Regions from separate parts of the Homo sapiens genome. Here regions 1 and 2 are each linked to region 3. The links are contacts of gene promoters, found by promoter capture Hi-C in blood cells and fetal thymus (Javierre and others, 2016). All regions are on one chromosome and are shown on one strand. Each heading gives the region's core, a stretch centred on a gene start or on the middle of the fragment in contact. The rest is flanking DNA. Distances are from core to core; before and after follow the strand shown. Region 1 holds the start of MGAT1 (alpha-1,3-mannosyl-glycoprotein 2-beta-N-acetylglucosaminyltransferase). Region 2 has its middle 3.7 kb from the start of LINC00847. Region 3 holds the start of TRIM41 (tripartite motif containing 41).

Region 1 (3,168 bases), core at 23-2,522, 420 kb after region 3:
CTTTGTTTCTCTAGAACCCTGCACGATTCGTGGTTTCATGTAGAAACAAGTTAGTGAGCAGTCAGTCAGTAACCACAGGCCGCAGAGTTCCGGGCTGCTCCGTGCTCTGGAACACGGGGGAGGGGTTGATGTCAGGGGCGTGGGTCCTGATCACATGGCAGCAGCCCTTCTTGGGGAAGTCAGCTACCCAGCAGCCTGTAGTCCTCGGCTACCCACCCTCACCGCCTGGGGTCCCATGGTGAGACAGCTGGGTGGGCATCAGGCTTCTGCAGAGGGCCAGGCCGGAGGGAGCTGGGCGAGGGAGTGGGGCTGGCTCCTGGCTTGCACCGGCCTCGTGGAATCCAGGCCTCAGACCTGATCGCTGGCGAAACTGGCTCTGTGCGCTGGAGCCCCTGGTCTTCTGCGTCTGTCCTCCTCCCGGCCAGACTTTACTCCTGGCTCAGCGACAGGTATTTGCTATGGAAGAGCTGTCCCTCCCTCCCCTCGGTGGGCCTGGGTCCACCTCCACCTCCTCTTCAGGTCCGCACCTTCCTCCCCTTTAAAACACCAGCCGGGCGCAGACCCGTTCTAGGCTTTTCCATGGTGCTTCCGCCAAAGCTTGTGACCGAGTCCTTCCCGCCTAGGGCTGGTGGGCCTCCCCTGCTGGTAGGTCTCTCTTCGCTTTCTTTACTCAGAACTGAAGCTCTCATTCCCCACCCACCAAGGAAAAACAAAAGGGAAGAAGCCACAGCTGGCCCCGGCTTGCTTTGGCACAGGTGTTTCCCCCCGGCCCCCCGTCGGGCACCCTGGTTCCTGTTCTGTCCCTGCCCCACGCGACCCTGGGGCTCCCACCCGGGCTCCTCAGCCTCCCCTGGGTTGGGGTGGGGGGACTGGCTCCCAGCCCTTGGCCTAGGGTTTGGTGAACGCCTTTCCTGGACTGCGGGCCCACTTCAGGCGCGGCTCCAGGCTGGGCAGCTGCGCTGGAGGGCCGAGGGCAGGGGTGGGGTCGGGCGTCCACCCTCAGGGTTGCGCCAGGGAGCCGGAAAGCCGACTCCCGAAGTTGGGGTCCTGGGAAAACTTGGGTCCTGGGTTGACTGAGAAGCGGCGGGGAAAGGAGGCGGGCCAGGAGGAGGGGGCCTGGCGGACGCCGGCCGGGGGGCGGGGCGCGGCGGGGCTGTCGGTCACGCCCCTCAGTCCGCCCCGCCCCGCCCCGCCTGCCGGGGAAGGGCCACGTTGCCCGCCCGGCCGTCCGGCCCCGGCGCGCCGCAGAAAGGGCTGGCGAGTCGAAAGGCGAGGCGGCCGCGGCAGCGCTTGGGACGCGCCTGGGCACCGGGCTCGCTCCCTGCGCCCCGGAGCAGGCCAAGTTCGGGGCCAGGACGTCGGGAGGACCTGGTGAGTAGGTGTCCGGGGACGGAGGTCAGACCGGGGGAGGCCTCGCGGGCGCCGAGAGGGAGCCCAAGGGACGTCGGGTCGCCCCAAAGCCCCGGTGCCCATGAGTGCTAGCGAGAGGGGGCTTGGCTGGGGAGCGGCCCGGTCCGACCCGGTGCCAGCTGCGCGTTAGTCCCTTCCCGAGCCGAGAGGTTGGAACTCCGCCTTCTGCTTTCGGAATCCCGGGCCTCCAGCTGTTAGAGGAAGGGCGGGCTCCGCGGACTGGGGAGGATGTTGTGAAACTCGGCCCCGGGCGTCCGTGCGTGCGGGGCAGGGAGGGGGTGGGATTGGGGAGTGGCCTTTCCCCCCTAACCTCACTCCAGCATCCTTTCCCCAAGTTAATAGAGGCTGATTCTCCTCAGCAGAAAGGAAATGTTGATTCAGTGTTGAAATATATATATAATAAGTTGGCAAGAAAACTTTTCTTCCTGTTTGCTAACGTGTGTGGAGTAGAGAGCCCCGGGACGTGCAGTGCCCGCGTCTGATAAACTCTGAAGTAGAGGGACTGTGGCTGGCCGGCTCCCTGAAGGCTGAAGCTTCACTTTGGTTAACCCTTGCTGCTGTAGTGGGTCTGCCGTTTTGTTTTAGAACATCACTGGCTGAGATGTTGCCCAGCTTTATTTTCAGTCATTTACGGTATTTTTTCAGGCCGTGTAGCCTTTGCTCTTACGTGCTCACATCATCCAGGATCTGCCTTCCATCAGCAATCACTGCGTCCTGGTCCTTCCCAATTCTGGGGACCATTGAGCTCACCCATTTCCCTGCTTCTGTGTCTCATTCTCACTGTTAGAAGCACTGCGGTATGCCTGACCTCAGTGGCCTGTGTTAACAAGGGAAACTCATTACTGTTCGGGGCAGTAGGGAAATTGTCACTGTCGTCAGTATCCAGGCAGTGGGACCTTGTGATGAACCAAATCAACCCTGTCACCTTATAGATGAGAGAACTAAGGTACAAGTGGGTCAAGTGACTTGTCCAAAGTTGCCTGGCTTGCTGGCTGGATCGCCTGAATCCCAGGCCTCATGCCTTTTGTGGCACTTGTATTTAGCTCTTCTTTTCCAGGATGAATAACCTGCATCCCTTCCCTCCTAGGTCTTATTCTCTCAACTCTTGAATTATTTAGTGTATCTTCTCTGACTACCTTTCTTTTTTTTCCGTCCTGAAATTATGGGCCTGGTACATGATACAGGAGTCCAGCCAAGGTCTAAGAACGAACATGAAAGCAGTTCAGTTAGAGTTCCATTACCTGTGACATGTCTATATTTTCTGGAATTTTTACGTAGTGCTTTTTAACTTTAAGCAAAGCAGAGATAGAAGGGAAAATCTGTTACCATTTCTTCCACTTCTGTACTTAATTTTACAGCTAAATATAACTTCTCGCTTATTGCTCATGATTGGAAGTTGACTATCTGGTGTTCACTTGCTATTTAAGAAACATTTTTTGCCAGATAAAGGAAATAGGCTGGAGAACACCATGGTATCAGAGTGTTAGAAAGGATCTCACAGCTCCTAGGCAGTCCTTCAAATGCTTCAGAAACTGAGTGAGCCCCATAGGGGCAGGTGGCGCCTACCCAGAGCCACCTCGGTTTTAGCTGAAGGGTTTTGTACTGAAAAGACTCACTTCTCATCTCCCACCATGGTGCAGATGTCTTTGTACCTGGTGGTGTGGATTGGCTGTGTCACCTCCCTAAAGGAGTTGTGAAAACTCTAGAAAGTCAAAGCCAGTTTTGAGTCTGTGCCTTGCATGCCAGTCTCATAAATGA
Region 2 (3,393 bases), core at 634-3,133, 400 kb after region 3:
TTTATAGACCTACCCCCAGGAATGCATTCCTTTCCCAGGGTCTTAATTATTAATATTCCTTGCTAGGAAAAGAATTCAGCAATATCTTCCCTACTTGCACGTCCATTTATAGGCTCTCTGCAAGAAGAAAAATATGGCTCTTTTTGCCTGACCCCGCAGGCAGTCAGACCTTATGGTTGTCTTCCCTTGTTCCCTAAAAATTGCTGTTATTCTGTTCTTTTTCAAGGTGCACTGATTTCATATTGTTCAAACACACGTTTTATAATCAATTTGTACAGTTAACACAATTATCATAGTGATCCTGAGGTGACATACATGCTCAGCTTATGAAGATAACAGGATTAAGAGATTAAAGTAAAGACAGGCATAAGAAATTATAAAAGCATTATTTGGGAACTGATAAATGTCCATATTAAAATAAAATCTTCACAATTTATGTTCTTCTGCCACAGCTCCAGCTGGTCCTTCCATTCGGGGTCCCTGACTTCCCGCAACATAGAACCCTCAAATAGATGAAGGTGGAGCTTCTTGGGTAGAGACTGGAGGATTGGGGTGTTGCCCACCGGGCCTTACGGACTCTCCTGAGTGATCTGAGTCACCTCCAAAGAGCTAGGTGTCAACTCCAAAACACCCTGTGTCCCTTTCTTCCATTTAGTAATCGAAGCCTTACCACCAGAGGTTTGGCAGGGCACGTTGAAGGGGTGGGTTGCCCCTCCACACCTGTGGGTGTTTCTCGTTAGGTGGAACGAGAGACTTGGAAAAGAAAAAGACACAGAGACAAAGTATAGAGAAAGAAATAAGGGGGCCCGGGGAACCAGCGTTCAGCATATGGAGGATCCCGCCAGCCTCTGAGTTCCCTTAGTATTTATTGATCATTTGTGGGTGTTTCTCCGAGAGGGGGATGTGTCAGGGTCACAAGACAATAGCGGGGAGAGAGTCAGCAGACAAACACGTGAACAAAGGTCTTTGCATCATAGACAAGGTAAAGAATCAAGTGCTGTGCTTTTAGATATGCATACACATAAACATCTCAATGCTTTACAAAGCAGTATTGCTGCCCGCATGTCCCACCTCCAGCCCTAAGGCGGTTTTTCCCTATCTCAGTAGATGGAACGTAAATTGGGTTTTATACCGAGACATTCCATTGCCCAGGGACGGGCAGGAGACAGATGCCTTCCTCTTGTCTCAACTGCAAGAGGCATGCCTTCCTCTTATACTAATCCTCCTCAGCACAGACCCTTTACGGGTGTCGGGCTGGGGGACGGTCAGGTCTTTCCCTTCCCATGAGGCCATATTGCAGACTATCACATGGGGAGAAACCTTGGACAATACCTGGCTTTCCTCAGCAGAGGTCCCTGCGGCCTTCCGCAGTGTTTGTGTCCCTGGGTACTTGAGATTAGGGAGTGGTGATGACTCTTAAGGAGCATGCTGCCTTCAAGCATCTGTTTAACAAAGCACACCCTGCACAGCCCTTAATCCATTTAACCCTGAGTTGACACAGCACACGTTTCAGGGAGCACAGGGTTGGGGGTAAGGTCACAGATTAACAGAATCTCAAGGCAGAATTTTTCTTAGTACAGAACAGAATGGAGTCTCCTACGTCTACTTCTTTCTATACAGACACAGTAACAATCTGATCTCTCTTTCTTTTCCCCACAGCACGTGCCCAGCTTCCTTTCAAGTCTCTGGCCAATGCAATGTGAGCAGAAGTGAAGGGGCAACTTTCAGGTGATGACTTGGAAAAGAAAGCTTAGTCCTCTGCTTCTCCTGTCACCCGAAAGAGAAACAGAGGCTTGTCTTGTTGAAGCCAGTGTGTTTGGTGTCTTTTTGTATAGTGGCTTAGACAGTGGCCTAACTAGAAGACCAAGGCTCAAAGGAACACATTTTGAGCTTCTCCACAGTTTGAGAACCTCTACATTACCTACACCAAGCCTTCCCCAGCACTCAATTTATGGAAGACCATTTCTCTTCTCATGACACATGTCCTCATGTTGCTTTGGCCTGTTTTAAAGCTTTCTCAACTCCATCTCAATAAAGAAATCTGCAGCTTTGTTGGATGAGAGGATCTAAAAAGTTCGTTCTTCCAATCGGTTGTAAATATAGACACTAATTTATAAACTGACACAGGAACACACAGCAAATTAGTAGAAAATCCGATTCCTGTTCCCTTTTCTCCTTGCATTGTTTCCTGCCAATGCTCACCATTTCTTTATCCTTTCCACTCTTCCTTGCTCCTCCTTCCCTTTAATTTTTCTCTGTTGTGCCTAAATAAGCTGTCCATGCATGGCACTCCATGGGCTCTGATAACAGACTCAACAAGACAATGACTTAAAGATGGAGTGACCAGCTGATCAGTCACACAAGTTGTTCCAGTGTAATTATTTTCACAGGTGTCTCAGTTTGGATGATAAATTATATGAACACTCTACTTACAGAACAAAGACCTTTATTTATGTCTCTCTTGCTTCAAAGTCCAAGGTGAGCATGCCTGCCTGGCAGCTCTGCCTCAATTCCTTTTAAATCATTCCTTTGTCATACTTCAGCACACTGCTGTCATCTGTATGGTTGAGCTGGACTGCTGCCATGTTGAGTCACCAGTGACTTTTTGATTCTTTAATTCCCAGTTTGACTGGCATTCCTCTGTGTGTGTGTATTTAGTTCTATGCAGTTTTATCACATGTGTAGGCTTGTGTAACCACTGCCACAGCCAAGATACAGAACAGCCAAGTTTGTTTTTGTTCACTGTCATCTCTCCAAAACCTAGTGCAATGCCTGGCAAAAAGACACTCAGTACATACTTGTTGATGGGGGAATGAATGAATGAATGGTGTGCTAATTGGGGTTTTAAGATGCAAAACCCAAGCAGTGTAAGTGAGGTACATGTGGCGGTCTAGAGGTAGGACCAGCAGGATAGCTGTGCCGTCTATCTCTGGGCCAGGCAACTGCTGCAGTCCTACCATGTCCCCAGCAGATGGGCAGGGGAAAGGCAGGGCCCAGTCTTTACAGGGGCAGGTCCTGGAGTTGCACACCTCACTTCCCCTCATATCCTACAGGCCAGAACTTAGGTGCAGGTACACACCAAGCTGCATAGGAGGCCGAGGTAGATGGTATTACTTGCCTGCAATTCTTCCTTCCCTCTTTTCTCTTACTAATGTTCACCAAAGTGGAGAGTACTTTTCCACAACTCATGCAGGGCTTTGGCCAATGGAATGTGGGCAGAAGCGAGTTTGTTAGTTCTGAGCTGAGGCCTTAGGAGGCCTCTTGTGTCTCTGCTCGTCCTCTGGCCCTGTTGCCACCCCAGGTGGTCACTGGTCCAGAGGATGAGAGACAAGTGAAGCAGCCCTGACTCGGCTCACAGCTTGAAGCAGAGCGGCCTCCACCAGCCTGCAAGAA
Region 3 (3,354 bases), core at 212-2,711:
CCACACAGATGGCCTCTTCGTCTACCTCGCAGAAGAGCTTCAGGGCTTCTTGGTGTTTGGGACAGATGCCCTGATCGGTCACGCGGCTCCCTCGACCAGGGGTTGGGTGCATCTGCCGAATCACCTGGACCATATTGGCCAGCTGCAGGTTGGGGCGGAAGCTCCGCCGAGGAAAGCTCTTTCGGCACTGAGGGCATGTGAAGCACCTCCGAGGGGCTGGAGGCGGGGGCAGTGGGGTGACGGGGTCTAGATCCTCTTCCTCAACCTCCTCCAGCACTTCCTCCTCGTCCTCCTCATCCTCCCCCCTCAGGTCCTCCTCCTCCATGTCCCCCAAGTAGTAGTCCAGGTCTTCCTCCTCGTCCTCCTCCTCCCACACATAGTCCATGTTGTCCCAGCTGGACCTGCTCATGCCACTGGTCCAGAACACACCCTCTTCTTCCTCCTCGACCTCCTCCTCCATGTCACCCTCGTAGTCTTCATCCCGCATGGGGGTGTCCCACCCCGCGCCAGCCCCCACAGCCTCCACTTCCTCCTCCTCTCCGTCCTCCTCCTCCTCCTCCCGATCTAACTCATCTCTGTCCTCCTCATCCTCCCCACCCCACAACTGGGTTACACAAACTCGGCAGAAGTTGTGCCCGCAGCCGATGGACACGGGGTCCGTGAAGTAATCGAGGCAGATGGCGCACACCGCCTCCTCCTGAAGGGTCTGCACAGGGTTGGGTGTCATGGCAACGGCAGCCATCTTAGTGTCCAGCCAGCCAGTGTAGAGGTTCGGTGGGGGGGCGAGGGGCGGGGGTCTTCCCTACCGACGCCCTGGCGACCCGGCTCCACCCCCAGCCCTGCCCCTCCACACCTCGCCCCAAGAGCAGCCAGAGAGATGTCCTGCCGACAACCCACCCCAACACAGTGTTCCCTACTCCCAAACGACAACCGTGTCTCTACGAGGGGAGGGGACAGTGCTGGGCGCCACCGCCAAGTCCCTCAGGTGGCTCTGAGTACAAGTCTGCCCCAATGCTCCCTTGGACTCCTCATAAACCCCCGCCCCTCCTCACTTCCTGGCCCCGCCCCTAGCTTCCGGCCTCCTTCCCAACACTTCCGGCGTCTACACACCACCTAAGCTCGCGACTTCCCTCCGCTGTCCTGCTACTCCCCCTTTTTCCCCGCGGGGCCCCAGGGCGACAGGAAATGGCGAGGAGACGCTCTAGTCCGCACTAGAGAACAGGGCGGGAGGGCTAGGACGGTGGAGGCCCGCGTCTCTGTGGTAAGAGGCCGCGGGGAACGCAGAAAGAACAGAGGAACCGCCTACCCCCATCCCCCGCCGCTGGGGAGAAACTTCGGGGGGTAGGGGGAGCGCCTGGCGGCCGTCTGCTTTCGGTGCTATCACCGCATCGGCCAGACGCCATCCTACCCTCCCGGCACAGCCGACTGCAGCCGGTACTCCCCACAGCCGATGCCGGAAGCGAGGGGGTGGGTCCGCGGCGCGCCCTGAAGTACTTCCGGCCCTTCTAGGCAGACGACTTCGTTGTGGAGGACTCAGAGGGTCGTCCGGGTCGGACCGGGGGCGGGGCCTGAGAAAGCGCTTCGCGGGTTAGGGCAGCAGACGCCCCACCCTTCCCCAACTGTAGTCGGCGTTTCGCATCCGAGGTAGAAACTGCCAACCGGACACTGTCTCATGGTTTAGATGAACTTCCCTAACTGCCCAGCAGTGAAGAAGTGGTGACGAATCATTACATCTACATTCTCACAGCATCTCTGCAAAAATAGATGCTTTGTGCGGTAGAAATAATACTTGATGCTTAAATAGCTCTTTAAATTTTATTTTTATAGAGATTTGATGTCGATACATAAATAAATAAATGTTGTTTGATGCGAGAAAAATGACGGGGCCATGATTTATGTACAGAATCTCCAGTGAGTGCCAGACACAGCGTGACGCCAGGGCTGGGCCTGCAGAACTTACCCTGCTCTCAAGGCGGCTCGCGGGAAAACTCCAGATGGACGTCGCGCTTCCTAGGGGGGTGGTCAGGCCTCTGAGTATGTCAGATCAAACGCGCCAAAAACCACGAACCCTCGTGGGTGAACTATGCTAGGCCATTACAGGACCTGCGGACTCGGCTGCGGTGGACAAGTCCGGCTCCAGAACCTGGACACCGCTCAGCCGGCCGCGGCAGGGGTCCCCGGGCCTGTCCTACAAGGGCGCTTGCCTAGAGCTATCCCGGCCGTCTCAGCCGTGTGTGTCTTCAGGACGATGCCGGCAGGAAAGTAGCCAAGGTGGTTTCCGTAGTGTAGTGGTTATCACGTTCGCCTCACACGCGAAAGGTCCCCGGTTCGAAACCGGGCGGAAACACGTTTTGGTCTGTTCGGGAGATTCTCTCCCGAGGCCGGCCTTACGTGGCAGGAAGGACATGTGTGTCCCTGCGCTTCGGAGGAACACGGACTGGGGCAAAACTGAAGGAGAGCACTACTCAAGTAAATTCAGGTCTCGCCCCTCACCTAATCTCTTGCTCTTCCCTTCTGAAGCCTATGCAGCCATCACATGTACAGGAATCCGTAGATTTCAGATCCTCGGCTCTAGTGCCTAGAACAGAGCCAGGCGCAGGCGCTTCTTAGTATTTGCACAGTGGAAACGTGCTTACACCTCTGAGGGTAACCTCCATCTTCAGAGACAAAGTTAGAATACAGACATGGCCGCCCGGCTAGCTCAGTCGGTAGAGCATGAGACTCTTAATCTCAGGGTCGTGGGTTCGAGCCCCACGTTGGGCGTAATTTCGCTTTTTGGAAAGGTTAAGGCAAGTTGTGTTACCTAAGTGCACAAATGGTATTCTCTGTACCAAGACCTAGTGGGTAGCAGATTCACCAACAGTGGGTGTTAGAACTTGGACTAACCTGGTGTTCTCCGATCCGTGTGTGGAAGGCCCCGAGCAGAATTCTCACAACGTTTGCACCCTCGCTAACTCTCAAAGAAAGAATGAGAGGCGGGTACCTGTGGACCAATTCCTGCAGGCCAGCACCGCGGGCTATCGTGCATGCATGACCCTTTGCTGTAGGCCACTCGCCCACGGGCAGCACATATTAGGCATTTTATGTTTACCAGACGGCCTGCCCCCGTCTTGCTGTGAGACTTGCTGTGCTGGAGGGAACAATGTGGTTTATCGAAACTGGGGTGAGACCGCAGGACGACCCCAGGCGTTCGTGAGCGTCAAAACCTATCTGATTCACTCCCACTTTACTGGGAGATTTAGTGGTTAGGCTTCCGCCTTTGTCTCGCTACGACCTGCTTTCGACTCCCTGTCAAGAAAGATGCTTTGTGTCATATGAGACACTTGTCTTCCGTATATTCTTTTTTATGCTCTT

The links. Contacts are between HindIII fragments. The CHiCAGO score rates a contact against its expected background, and 5 or more counts as called.
Region 1: a contact is called between a fragment that was not itself captured here and the fragment with the promoter of TRIM41 in region 3, in 12 of 17 cell types (megakaryocytes, total B cells, activated CD4 T cells and 9 more). The highest score is 11.1, in megakaryocytes.
Region 2: a contact is called between a fragment that was not itself captured here and the fragment with the promoter of TRIM41 in region 3, in 5 of 17 cell types (total B cells, naive B cells, total CD4 T cells and 2 more). The highest score is 9.7, in total B cells.

Annotation. Positions count from the first base shown.
Region 1 is chr5:180,800,883-180,804,050 of GRCh38, reverse strand. It overlaps MGAT1 (alpha-1,3-mannosyl-glycoprotein 2-beta-N-acetylglucosaminyltransferase), which reads left to right and starts at 1,245. Exons shown (of 2, transcript NM_002406.4): 1 at 1,245-1,371. RefSeq lists enhancers at 266-375, 519-1,225, 1,226-1,933 and silencers at 746-795, 806-885, 1,056-1,415. The HindIII fragment of the contact is 1,346 bases long and covers 600-1,945 here.
Region 2 is chr5:180,825,534-180,828,926 of GRCh38, reverse strand. It overlaps a transcript of ZFP62 not described here. Among named protein-coding and RNA genes, the nearest start is that of LINC00847, 3.7 kb to the left of the region's middle. The HindIII fragment of the contact is 263 bases long and covers 1,752-2,014 here.
Region 3 is chr5:181,221,388-181,224,741 of GRCh38, reverse strand. TRIM41 (tripartite motif containing 41) reads right to left here and starts at 1,461. Exons shown (of 6, transcript NM_033549.5): 1 at 1-1,461. The coding sequence starts at 742. It overlaps TRK-CTT2-3 (tRNA-Lys (anticodon CTT) 2-3), which reads left to right and starts at 2,691; the gene lies at 2,691-2,763. TRV-CAC1-5 (tRNA-Val (anticodon CAC) 1-5) reads left to right here and starts at 2,275; the gene lies at 2,275-2,347. MIR4638 (microRNA 4638) reads left to right here and starts at 2,109; the gene lies at 2,109-2,176. RefSeq lists enhancers at 1-565, 1,233-1,462 and silencers at 713-922, 2,193-2,422, 2,673-2,882. The HindIII fragment of the contact is 16,690 bases long and covers 1-3,354 here.